2 separate regions of the Homo sapiens genome follow, and region 1 is linked to region 2. Evidence: promoter capture Hi-C in 16 types of primary human blood cells and fetal thymus (Javierre and others, 2016). All regions are on one chromosome and are shown on one strand. The core of a region is centred on a gene start or on the middle of the fragment in contact, and the rest is flanking DNA. Distances in the headings are between cores, read along the strand shown. Region 1 overlaps DBP (D-box binding PAR bZIP transcription factor). Region 2 holds the start of RASIP1 (Ras interacting protein 1).

Region 1 (6,104 bases), core at 855-3,354, 110 kb after region 2:
CCAATTGGGGCTGGGGCCAAGCTTCCTATATTCCTAGGAGAGGCCTGGGATCCCAGAATCGTGGTAGCCCAGTGGCGGGGGTTCTGGGAAGGTCCAGGAGGCCGATGCTCCCCGGAGAGCAGGGGGTTGGGAATCTTTGGAGGTTGAGTGGAACTAAGTGACTGGAAGAGCAAGAGGAAAGATGTTTCCCTTTGGGCACATTGAGGTCTCCAGGGACGGACTGCAGGTCGGGGATTCCTGGGCACACCTGCTCCAGGTCCGACCTCCGGGCCGAACCAGGGCCCTACCCTTCCCAGCGGCACATTCCTGCGCCACGTGAGTCCTCCCATCCCTCCTCCGCGCTTCGCGCAGGCGCCTTCAAGCGCGAGGGGGGCGGGGCCGGGGGAACGTGAGGGCGCCGATGGCGGGGGCCTGGGAGGAAGGGAGGAGGAGGGAAGCAGGCGTCAGCACGTGACTCGGCCCTGAACCTGTGTCCTTAGCTGGCCCCGGCTGGCTGGTGCTTAAAGGTACAGGCGCCTCCTTTCGAACCAATCTTCTGGAACCTTAGAGCAGCTTCTCCTCCTCTTTCCAGCGAGTAGCTCTTAGACTCTAACTTGAGAGCTTTTCAGTGCAGTAGATTCTTTTTCTCTGGACAGTCTGGGGTCTAAGCTTAGGTCGTGGATTCGGTAAGTAGGATTCAGGCTAGACTGTGCATCTGAAGTCCTGAGGTTTTAGAAGCAATAGCCCCATCGCTTCTCGGCCTTTTGGCTAAGATCAAGTGTAGAAGCAATAGCCCTGATTCGTGTGTTACCTAGGGCAAGTCAGTTATGACTGGGACTCAGTTTCCTTGTTTGTAAAGGTGGATATGGCTCCATGATCTCTAAGCATCTTTATGGCTTAGGGGAACCTTCATTTTTCTCGTTATTTTGGAGACGGAGTCTCGCTCTGTTGTCCGGGCTGGAGTGCAGTGGTATGATCTCAGCTCACTGCAACCTCCACCTCCAGGGTCCGGGTTCAAGCAATTCTCCAGCCTCAGCCTCCCTAGTAGCTGGGCTTACCGGCACCCGCCACTACACCTGGGCAATTTTCGTACTTTTAGTAAAGATGAGGTTTCTCCATGTTGGCCATGCTGGTCTTGAACTCCTGACTAAAGGTGATTCGCCGCCTCGGCTTCCCAAACTGCTGGGGTTACAGGCGTGAGCCACTGCGCCTGGCCAAGGGAACCTTCATATTTTATATTAGGGAGATTAATCCCTGGCCGAATTTATGCTAGATCCCAGAAGGACTTTCCATGTGGCTATGATACCACAGCAAAAAGTAGCTTCAGGAAACCCCCTCCTTAAAATACACACTCAGCTGACACGTGCTGTTTCCCCAAGGCCTGACCTCTCGGGACACACCCAGCCCTGTGGACCCAGACACCGTGGAGGTGTTGATGACCTTTGAACCCGACCCAGCTGATCTTGCCCTATCAAGCATTCCTGGCCACGAGACCTTTGACCCTCGAAGACATCGCTTCTCAGAAGAGGAACTTAAGCCCCAGCCAATCATGAAGAAGGCAAGAAAAATCCAGGTGCCGGAGGAGCAGAAGGTGAGCAGAGCTGGATGTGGGAGATAGACTTGGCTGGAGACATGCCCCACAGCCAGGGAGGGGCCTTTTCTCACAGTCAAGCCTGGGCTTCTCCTTGGGATTAGTGCTCAGCCTCTCCTGGCCTGCAGCCACAGATTAGTCCTCCTTGGCCACGGGGCACAAGGGGGCAGGGGCCTGAGGTTTATAAAGACAGTGTCAACTGGGCGAGGGGCCTCACTCGTGTAATCCCAGCATTTTAGGGGGCTGAGGCAGGAGGATCTCTTGAGCTCGGGAGTTCAAGACCAGCCTGGGCAACATGGCAAAACCCCATTTCTACAAGCCACTTGGGAGGCTGAGGTGGGAGGACTGCTTGTGCCTGGGAGATTGAGGCTGCAGTGAGCCAAGATTACACCACTGCACTCCAGCCTGGGCAACAGAGGGAGACCTTGTCTTAAAACAAAAGACAGTGTCACTGTGGGGTGCTGACTCAGCCAGCTCTGCTAGGTCTACTTGTAGAGACTTGGAGCTTCTCCTATTACTTGGGTCCAGAGCTCCACCAGGCACACTTGCAAAGGACAGTCTTCCTTTGGCAATGGGATATCAGCCTGTGGCCTGTCTCTCCTTACTCAGCAGGCCTTTGATCTCTGATGTGGGACTTCCTTTGGAGTGATTGCATTTGGCTAGGATGAAGACTGTGCCAGCCCCTTTAGGCCTTGTTTCCTGGGCCTGGACTTCTCACTGGTGGGAGACTTCAGGCTTCTGTTAGCAGCCAGTGCCACTTTCTGATTTGGGGTGATTTGAGCAGTCATTGCATCTTTGCATGATTTTGTTTTTTGCCATTACTGGAGTCTTCCCTAGCAAGAGTTGCTTGGGCTTCTGTTACAAGACTTTGTCATTCCGGGCCAGGCGCGTTGGCTCACGCCTGTAATCCTAGCACTTTAGGAGGCTGAGGTGGGCGGATCACTTGAGGTCAGGAGTTTGAGACCAGCCTGGCCAACATGGTGAAACCTCGCCTCTACTAAAAGTACAAAAATGTTCCGGGTGTGGTGTCTCACACCTGTAATCACAGCACTTTGGGAGGCCGAGGCGGACAGATCACGAGATCAGGAGACCATCCTGGCCAACATGGTGAAACCCCGTCTCTACAAAAAAATACAAAAATTAGCTGGGCATGGTGGCACTCATCTGTAGTCCCAGCTACTTGGGAGGCTAATGTAGGAAAATCGCTTGAACCCAGGAGACGGAGGTTGCAGTGAGCCGAGATCGCGCCACTGCACTCCAGCCTGGGCGACAGAGTGAGAACTCCATCTCAAAAAAAAAAAAAAAGAACAAAAATTAGCCGGACATGGTAGCGGGCACCTATAATCCCAGCTACTTGGGAGGCTGAGGCAGGAGAATCGCTTGAACCTGGGAGGTGGAGGTTGCAATGAGCCGAGATCATGCCACTGCATTCCAGCCTGAACGACAGAGCGAGACTCCATCTCAAAAACAAACAAGACTTTGCCATACCCTTGCGTAACACATAGCTACTTGAAGCACCTAGGACTGGCCTGGAAGTCAGATCTACACCAGTGGTTTCTCCTTCTAGAGGGCCCTGTTGCTAGGGACTGGATTTACCCTCACAAGCAGGAACTGGGCTTTAATTAAATAGTGGAGTAGAGAGCATCTTTCTGAGCCCCGTGGTCCTTGGTTACTAAGGAGGAGTCTTCCTTAGGAACCAACTTCCAGGATGGGAGGACTTTAGGTATAATCCTCTGGGGAGGTCTCAGGATAGTCCCCTTTCCTAAGAGACAGCTCTTCTCTCAGTCAGGTCCTACTGGGGAGGAGGCTATTCTCTGGCCTCAGTTCAAGGCCAGCAGGTCAGAGGCTGGCCACAGTCATTGAAACCACTTAGACCTCACTTTTGTTTGCCAAGGATGGATGAGGTTGCCTTGGCAACCAGGTCAGAAGGCCCCAGCTCTGCGAGGATTTTATGGGACACCAAACCCCATCACCAGGGCACCAAGCTTTCCTTAGCAACCAGGATCTGGAAAGGCAATGTGCAGGGCAGGGCAGTGCTCTTCATTGGGAGAAGCCCTCAGACCATGAAGGCCTTGTTGCTAGGGAACAAGCATCCTTAGCAAGCAAGAGCTAACTGCATGCAGGCCTTTATCATGTGGGGAGGGCTGGGGTCCGCTTTGCAGAGTGGAGACTTGAAGCGAGTTGCTTGAGGGTGGGGGGTCTATCTCATGCCTTTACTGTTGCTAGGGGCCCAATCTCCTTAGCAACCAGGGCCCTAGAAAGGCAGACCCTTGGGTACCTATCCCAGCAGAGACCTGGTGTGGTTTAGGCCCCGCTGCTGGGGCTCCCTTCCTCTCTCGCTGGGACCTGGGTCCCTCTGGACCTCAGTGCTCTCCCCCTCTTCTCCTGCAGGATGAGAAATACTGGAGCCGGCGGTACAAGAACAACGAGGCAGCCAAGCGGTCCCGTGACGCCCGGCGGCTCAAGGAGAACCAGATATCGGTGCGGGCGGCCTTCCTGGAGAAGGAGAACGCCCTGCTGCGGCAGGAAGTTGTGGCCGTGCGCCAGGAGCTGTCCCACTACCGCGCCGTGCTGTCCCGATACCAGGCCCAGCACGGGGCCCTGTGAGGCTGCCCCACATCCCCACCTGGCGGAGCTCTCCTCCGCCTTGCTGAGACTTACGCCCTGTTCCCTTCCTGCCCTGTGGCCCACGGGCCGGCCAGCTGGGTGCCCCAGGGACGTGATAATGCAGATAAATACATTTATATTTTTAAGAAAAAGCGAGCCTCCCCCCTCCCTTGCGGGGGCGGGGAGGGTTCTCTGTGTGTGTCCCCGGCACGTCAGGGACCCTATCCTCCCACCGCCTCCGTTAACACGATCCTGAATAAATCTTGAGAACCCCAGAGCCAGCTGTTGTGGAAGAAGAGGGCAGCTCCCTGGCATACTGGCTGCAGCCCGTGGGCAGCTCCGGGCTGTCGTCCATAGAGGGCAGGCGCTGCTGGAAGTGCTGGAGTCTGAGTCCTCCCGCGGGCTGTCGGATGGAGGAAGGGCAGAAGGTCTGAGAGGAATGAAGCGACTGCCTTTATTGCATAGACCTTTTCAATTGCTTTTTAGATTGGGGACGGAGGACGCGCATGAGACGAACAGGGGATATGAATTTCCCCGCCCCCACCCGCGGGGAGAGGAACATTAGTGCAAATCCTAGCGCCGGCCCCGGGGAACCTGCCCCTCCTGGGCTGATTGGCCAGCTAAATGGAGGCACCGGAGTGGATGGGGCGAGGCTGCGGGCCCTGACCGGCCGACTCACTGAGGCCTACCCCAGCCAGTACATTCCAGGTCCTGTCATTGGGCGACGCGTAAAATAGACTCCGCCCTCAGCCATCCTGGCCGGGTAGGAGCAGGTGGCAAGCGTCAGGACTGAGCCCTGCCCCGTAAGGGCGGCCCCAGATCAGACGCCAGGCCCCGCCCTCATTGATCAGGCACTACCCTCGGGACGAGCCCATTTCTCTTTAACCGTGACGACGCCCACCTTCCAGCATCACGTCTGGTCCCATGAAAGCGAGCGCAATCCTGAGACGGGGCCAGGGCCCCTGCCACCACAACTCTAGCAGCCAGGCCACACCCCCTAGCTCAGGCTCCGCCCCATTGGAATGTAGGCCCCGCCCCCGGCGGGTACCAAGCTTGTTTAGTTTCAGGGCTCCCGCCCCGGGCAGCCAGGAGGCCCAGTGAGCAGTGTACCGATGCCAGGGTGCATCTGTGCCTGTAGCGGCCCATACTCCACCTGCTCCCCGTCCACTGTGAGCACGCCGCGTGGTGTGAGCGGCTCTAGGCGGAAGGCACGGGCCGCGGCGTAGCCCAGCTGCGGACAGCCCAGGCTGAAGTGGCTACCACGCTCCATGGCCAAGAAAAGGCGCAGCAGCGCAGCCCGCGAGATGCCGCTACGCACCCAGCACAGGTGCACCAGGCCGTCGTCGAAGCGCGCATGCGGAGCTGCCACCAGGTCAGCGCCTAGGTGGCTGGGCGAGATGGCCAACATGAGCACAAAGTCCCCCTCCAGCGTCACCCAGTCTGGGGGCAGCGGGGTGCCCAGCGGAGGCAGCAGGTGGTCGGGCGGGCCGCAGGTGGAGGCCCCTACCCGGGCATCAGGGGTGGGAAGTGGGAGCCCAGAGGATGGGGGAATTACGGGGGCCCCTTCGGAGACGGGTGAGTGTAGAGCTGCCTTGGGAGAGCCAGGAGGTGAAGACAGCAGTGGGTCCGGGGACAGCGGAGCATCCCCAGCCCCACCCCAGTCCCCAGCCAGCTCTGGGCCCCCACCGTTGAGGGACAGGATGGGCAGGGGTTCTGGCGAGCCAGGAGAGGCCAGGGCAGGCTGGGGCAGGGGAAGAGGCAGGTCAGACACAGAACGATGCAGGGGTGAGTGGGCCATGGGCGGGGCTGGGTCTGGGGTTAGGGTCAGCTCCGACTTGGCACGAGGCAGGCTATGGGCAGGGGTGGGCGAGGCAGGTTCCACAGTGGCGGGGAGGTAGGAGAGGCGTCCGCGGTAGGTGTGCAGTGT
Region 2 (6,575 bases), core at 81-2,580:
TGGGGGAACAATACGGAGACCTTGGTGTCCAAGGGGAAAGAGGCCACCCTGACCAAGCCCATGGTGGGTCCAGAGGATGCAGGCAGCTACCGCTGCGAGCTGGGCTCTGTGAATTCCAGCCCAGCCACGATCATCAATTTTCACGTCACAGGTCAGTGCTGTGGGGCTGAGAGAAGTGTAGGATTCAGGGCCCAGGAAAGCTGGGGTCCGCGGCGGGGGCGTGGCCTTGGCGATGGGGGCGTGACTTCCTGTTGGGTGTGGTTTCGGGGCACGGGGTGTGGCTTCCTGCCGGGGGCGTGGCCTCTGGCCCCGAGGACAGGGGTTCCCTTGGGTGTGTTCAGGCTTGACACTGTTGAAGGCGTGATTATCTCTGGGATGGCCGGCTACTGGGACGGGCTTGTCTTTGCCAGGGCAGGAACTCCACGCCCTGCCAGGACTGCTCTTTACGCTTTCTCTAACAGTGTTGCCCAAAATGATCAAGGAGGAAAAACCTTCTCCAAATATCGTAACCCCGGGGGAGGCGACCACGGAGTCGTCCATAAGCCTCCAGCCTCTGCAGCCCGAGAAAATGCTGGCAAGCCGCCTTCTGGGGCTGCTGATCTGCGGCTCCCTAGCACTGATAACCGGCCTTACCTTTGCGTAAGCAACCCATTGAAGAAGACAGGCTTGGCTTGGAGTAAGGGGCGGGGCTTCCAGGAACCCAACACAGAAGCTGGTCTGGGGGCTACTGAGGCCTGAGAGCAGGACTTTCCTGGGGATGGAGTGCGGGGGGCTTGAATAGGAGGACTTCGAAGGGCGAGGCTTAGGTAATTGCTAGAATAAGGTCACAAAGGGGGAGGTTGGGAGGGGTGTCCCCCACACAATTAGTACCCAAACCGGTTCCATGATCTGCACCCCACTCCCACCCCTAGGATATTTCGTCGAAGGAAGGTGATCGATTTCATCAAATCCTCACTGTTTGGCCTTGGCAGTGGAGCGGCCGAGCAAACCCAGGTCCCAAAAGAAAAGGCCACAGATTCGAGGCAACAATAAAGATTTATCTTGTTGTCTAAGCATCTGACTCACTCCCCGGGACGGGACTGATTCTAGCCTTTGGTTCCCCGAGAGGAGAGGTCTGGGGATGGGCTCCGGCCTGAGGGAGGAAGGGCAGAAAACCGGGACCCTTGGGTCCTGGAGGGGACCAACTGACTGCGATGTAATTCCAGAATCAAGGAATGGGGCAGGGCCAACCCTACCCAGATCTCCTCCCCCAGGCCTGGTCTCCTCACAGGACGCCCCCTCCCCGCTCTTCCTGCCGGGTTTCCTCTTGCCTTTTCCTGTCCCCCACCCAGTGCTGGGAGCCGTGGCAGAGGCAAGAGCAGTGGAACTGACCCAGGCCAGTGGAGCCAGGGCCTCCGGGTGTGCCGGACCCGAAGCAGGGTAAGAGCCAGGGACCCAGCAGCCCAAACCCCTCCTCCCTGGGCCCCAAGACTCAGTCCCCCAGCCATCTTCCATCCCAGGACCCAGGAATCCAGGGTACCATCCCTCTCCTCCCCCTGGACTCGCAAGTCTGAGCCCCAGCCCCCTCCTCCCTCTGACTCGGAGTCCAGGTTCCCTCCACCCCATCCCCACAAGAATGCCTTAGGAGTTGGGGCCTTACCCGCCTTCCCTTAGGGCCATGCTGTCTGGTGAACGGAAGGAGGGCGGAAGCCCCCGCTTCGGGAAGCTTCATCTCCCCGTGGGCCTGTGGATCAATTCCCCCAGGAAGCAGCTGGCGAAGCTGGGGCGGCGCTGGCCCAGCGCAGCCTCTGTCAAGTGAGTGCCATCTCTGCAGGACTCCTGCCCCTGCACACCTGCTTCCCATCTGTCCCTGTTCACTGCCCAGTCCCTGCAAAGTGTTGGCTCCGGTCCTCATCCTGAATTGGGCAAACGAGCTGGTGGGCAGGGGGAGACGGTGGGGCACAGTGATACCAGGGCGCGGTGGGAGTAAGAGCTAGGCTAGGAGGTGGAGTGAGGCCGGATGGGCACGGGGACGGGGACAGAAGGAGCAGGGGGATTGATTCACCTTCCTTCCTCCCCTCCCTGCTCACCTCTTGGAATTTCCTACTGTGGGACTTGCCTTTATTTATTTATTTTTTCTCTCTCTCTTTGCCTCGCGTCTGTCCCCACCCTCACCCCCGCCCCGTCCATCCACCCTGGGTCCCTGTCCTCCCTCTGGGTCTCTGCCCACTTCCCTCCTAATATGCCCCCACCCCCGTCTTGGCGTGTCGTCCTGGGTCTCTCTCCCGCGACTCTGTTCCCCGGCGGACTCCCAGGTCTTCTTCGTCGGACACGGGGAGCCGCAGCAGCGAGCCGCTACCTCCGCCCCCGCCGCACGTGGAGCTGCGGCGAGTGGGCGCTGTCAAGGCGGCCGGGGGAGCCTCCGGTAGCCGCGCCAAGCGCATCTCCCAGCTCTTCCGGGGCTCGGGGACCGGGACCACGGGGTCCAGCGGCGCAGGAGGCCCTGGGACCCCGGGGGGCGCGCAGCGCTGGGCCAGCGAGAAGAAGCTGCCGGAGCTGGCGGCGGGCGTGGCCCCCGAGCCCCCGCTGGCTACCCGCGCCACGGCGCCTCCGGGGGTCCTCAAGATCTTCGGCGCCGGACTGGCATCGGGCGCCAACTACAAGAGCGTGCTGGCCACGGCGCGCTCCACGGCGCGCGAGCTCGTGGCCGAGGCGCTAGAGCGCTACGGCCTAGCAGGCAGCCCCGGCGGTGGCCCCGGCGAGAGCAGCTGCGTGGACGCCTTCGCTTTGTGCGACGCTCTGGGCCGGCCCGCGGCGGCGGGCGTGGGAAGCGGCGAGTGGCGGGCGGAGCACCTGCGCGTGCTGGGCGACTCCGAGCGCCCGCTGCTGGTGCAGGAGCTGTGGCGGGCGCGGCCCGGCTGGGCGCGGCGCTTCGAGTTGCGCGGCCGCGAGGAGGCGCGGCGCCTGGAGCAGGAGGCCTTCGGGGCCGCGGACAGCGAAGGTGAGCGGCGGGCGGGGCTCTGGGGCGGGGACTCGGTGCCAGAGAGGCGGGGTCCGTGGGGCGGGGCCTGGGCGGGGCTTGTGGGACTCGCGGGCTGGCTGGGGGCGGGGCCCGCGGGAGGGGACTGGGAGGGGACTGGACGGTGCGTGTTGGACTCTAGGCAGAGCTAGAGCAGGGCCGGGGGCGGCCAGATGGGCGGGCCTGAGAGTTGGGTGGGGCTTGTTGATTGAGCAGGAGTTTTACAGGGGCCAAGCTTGGGGCTTAGGCGGGACGGGGGCTGGTTGCTGGTGGTGGCTTGGAGTGGCCTGAAGTGGCTCCGAATTGGGGTTAGGGCCTTCTGCAGGCATTTCAGACTGCCTTGGAGGAGGTGGGGTGTGTAGCGGGGTCTGCGGAGTAGTAGATCCTGAGGAGCGTTTGTGGAGTCCAGTGGAATGGGCAGGAGTCCGCAGGGGCCTAAGGGATTCGCCCTGTGTGGTAGGTTAGAGGACACTAGCAATTTGCTGATCTTTGAAAGTTCCTTTCTCTAACCAATCCCCACTTTCTGGTAAGGTTTCTGCGAGGTCTGTTAGGTGTACATCCTGCAGCTTAATGGCTTAAACTGTACTCTCCTTTGATGTGGTCTCTTGGGGCCAATTAGGAGAAAGAGAAATCAATAGTGCAACTGTTTTGATACTGAATATTGACAAGGGTCTTTTTGAATTAAAGAACTAGTCCTGGCCGGGCGTGGTGGCTCACGCCTGTAATCCCAGCACTTTGAGAGGCTGAGGCGGGCGGATCACCTGAGGTTGGGAGTTCGAGACCAGTCTGGCCAACATGGTGAAATCCTGTCTCTTCTAAAAATACAAAAATTAGCCGAGCGTGGTGACGCATGCCTGTAATCCCAGCTACTCGGGAGGCCGAGACATGAGAATAATTTGAACCCAGGAGGCAGAGGCTGCAGTGAGCCAAGATCGCGCCACTGAACTCCAGCCTGGGGGACAGAGCGAGACTTCGTCTCGAAAAAACAAACAAACAAACAAACAAAAAACTGTCCTCCAGAAAAAGAAAAAGGAATTGGAGACCTAGGAGCCGGAAGAGTAAGCACGGACAATGTTCTTGGGAGCGATGCAGAGCAGATGGGCGGGGCATGTTGTGGGGCGGGGCCTGTGGTGGGGCGGGGCTTGTGGAAAAGCGTGGTCTGGGGCAAAAACTGTTGGGTCCCGCGAGGAGTGGTGGCATGTGGTGAGCATGGGTCTCTGTGGTAGGAGGCAGCTCTGCCAAGTAGGTTGAGGTGGCTACTGAGCAGGGCCTATGTGGGTGGAGTATAGAAGGGGGCGACACCTGCAGAGTGAGTGAATACAGGTTCCTAGATCAGGCCTGCTGGGACTAAGATGGGCGGAGCCGCTGAGGGGCCGGCCTTGGATAAGACGGCCTTAGGCTGGGTTGGCTGCCAAGTGGGATCACATGGGAAAGGAAGGGGCTGAAGGAAGATATCACTGTAGAGGCGAAGGAAGGCCTGGAACAGAAGGTAGAGTCAATGGTCAAACAGCTGGTGGTGGACCGCGCCTGGCAGGGGTGGGGCCTGGCGCATTGAAAGCACGGGTCTGCTCAGGGAGCCTTCTAAACGCTTTTCTGTATCTGAGCTTCCTTTTGGGAGATAGAATGTTGTAGCAATTCAACTGATGGGCTTTGAACTGGGGTTTGAATTCCAACCCATTCTGTGCCAGTTAATCTCAGTAAAATCCTAGGTGAGGATTCAATGGGATAATATATTCAATGTATATAAAGGGCCTAGCACAGGGCTTGGCACAGAGTAGGTGCTTAATAAAGAATGACGATTATAAGCATTGTCTCCGCCACCCCCTCGACAAAGTATCCATTGAGCACCTGGTGTAGGCCACACATTTTCCTTTTTGTTTTTTTGTTGTTGTTGTCGTTGTTGTTCGAGATGGAGTCTTGCTCTGTTGCCCAGGCTGGAGTGCAGTGGCACGATCATGGCTCACTGCGACCTCCACCTCCCGGTTCAAGCAATTCTCCTGCCTCAGCCTCCCGAATAGCTGGGATTACAGGTGCCCACTACCACGCCTGGCTGATTTTTTGTATTTTGAGTAGAGATGGGGGTTTCGCCATGTTGGTCAGGCTGGTCTCGAATTCCTGACCTCAAGTGATCCACCCACCTCAGCCTCCCAAAGTACTGGGATTACAGGCGTGAGCCACCGCGCCCAGCCTGGCCACACAGTTTTCGGGGCACTGGGGAATACAGTGGGGACGTTGACAGATGAGGTTTCCACCCTCCCATATCTCACAAGCCTAGTGGGAAACACATCAGTCCATTCATTCAGCTCATTTCCCCTTGGTGCCTACTGTGTGCCAGGGTTCCAGCTGGGTCCAGAAAAAGCTCAGAGTACCCAGTGGTGCAGTCACCTGCTTCAACTTGGACTGTCAGGGAAGGGTGTTTAGGAAGAGGTGGTTTCAATCTCCTGGAGGGCAGGGTCTTCTCTGTTATCCAGTGACTTGAACAGTTCTAAGCATGTAGTAGGTAGTCAATAAATACTTGTTTTGTTTTGTTTTGTTTTTTGAGACGGAGTCTTGCTCTGTCGCCCAGGCTAGAGTGCAGTGGCACGATCTCGGCTCACTGCAAGCTCCGCCTCCCGGGTTCACGCCATTCTCCTGCCTCAGCCTCCCGAGTAGCTGGGACTACAGGCACCTGCCACATTTTTTGTATTTTTAGTAGAGACGGGGTTTCACCGTGTTAGCCAAGATGGTCTCGATCTCCTGACCTTGTGATCCGCCCGCCTCAGCCTCCCAAAGTGCTGGGATTACACGCGTGAGCCACCGCACCCGGCCTAAATACTTGTTAAAAGAACAAATGGGCTGGGCGCTGTGGCTCATGCCTGTAATCCCAGCACTTTGGGAGGCTGAGACGGGAGGATCACAAGGTCAGGAGTTCGAGACCGACCAGTCCGAGACCAGCCTGGCCAACATGGTGAAAACCCATCTATACTAAAAATACAAAAATTAACCGGGCGTTGTGGTGCGCGCCTGTAATCCCAGCTACTTGGGAGGCTGAGGCAGGAGAATTGCTTGAACCTGGGAGGCAGAGGTTGCAGTGAGCCGAGATCGTGCCACTGCACTCCAGCCTGGGCGACAGAGCGAGACTACGTATTGAAATAAAAAAAAAAAAAAAGAAGAACAAATGATTCAATGGAAAAGAATGAATGAAATTCCTGAGCTGAAAACTGCAAGATGGGTATTAATCAGGACAGAAAGGTGTTCCACGCACAGGGAACAGAATATGCAAAAGCCTAAATCCTAAATGTGGGAAGCAGCCTCACCTCTCTGCAACCAGTTCTTTGTCTCATAATCTGCAGCTCTGTGTCTATCCCTGTCTTTCCAGGCTCAGCCTCACTGTTCTCCATCTCTCCGCAGGCACCGGCGCCCCTTCGTGGCGGCCACAGAAGAACCGCTCCCGGGCGGCGTCGGGTGGGGCAGCGCTGGCCAGTCCTGGCCCGGGGACCGGATCAGGGGCCCCAGCTGGGTCTGGAGGCAAGGAGCGCTCAGAAAACTTGTCTTTGCGGCGCAGCGTGTCGGAGCTTAGCCTTCAGGGGCGGCGGCG

The links. Contacts are between HindIII fragments. The CHiCAGO score rates a contact against its expected background, and 5 or more counts as called.
Region 1: a fragment that was not itself captured here is called in contact with the fragment with the promoter of RASIP1 in region 2 in 2 of 17 cell types (megakaryocytes and erythroblasts); the score reaches 6.2 in megakaryocytes.

The regions. Positions count from the first base shown.
Region 1 is chr19:48,628,910-48,635,013 of GRCh38, reverse strand. It overlaps DBP (D-box binding PAR bZIP transcription factor), which reads left to right. Exons shown (of 4, transcript NM_001352.5): 3 at 1,359-1,570; 4 at 3,962-4,984. The coding sequence ends at 4,177. It overlaps SPHK2 (sphingosine kinase 2), which reads right to left. Exons shown (of 7, transcript NM_020126.5): 7 at 4,609-6,104. The coding sequence ends at 5,241. Among named protein-coding and RNA genes, the nearest start is that of DBP, 5.4 kb to the left of the region's middle. RefSeq lists a silencer at 284-463. The HindIII fragment of the contact is 2,907 bases long and covers 651-3,557 here.
Region 2 is chr19:48,735,365-48,741,939 of GRCh38, reverse strand. RASIP1 (Ras interacting protein 1) reads left to right here and starts at 1,330. Exons shown (of 12, transcript NM_017805.3): 1 at 1,330-1,419; 2 at 1,654-1,794; 3 at 2,295-2,980; 4 at 6,389-6,575. The coding sequence starts at 1,658. It overlaps IZUMO1 (izumo sperm-oocyte fusion 1), which reads left to right. Exons shown (of 10, transcript NM_182575.3): 8 at 1-151; 9 at 462-639; 10 at 912-1,088. The coding sequence ends at 1,032. RefSeq lists a cis regulatory region at 52-1,477, an enhancer at 2,538-3,077 and a silencer at 2,595-3,114. The HindIII fragment of the contact is 9,865 bases long and covers 1-1,707 here.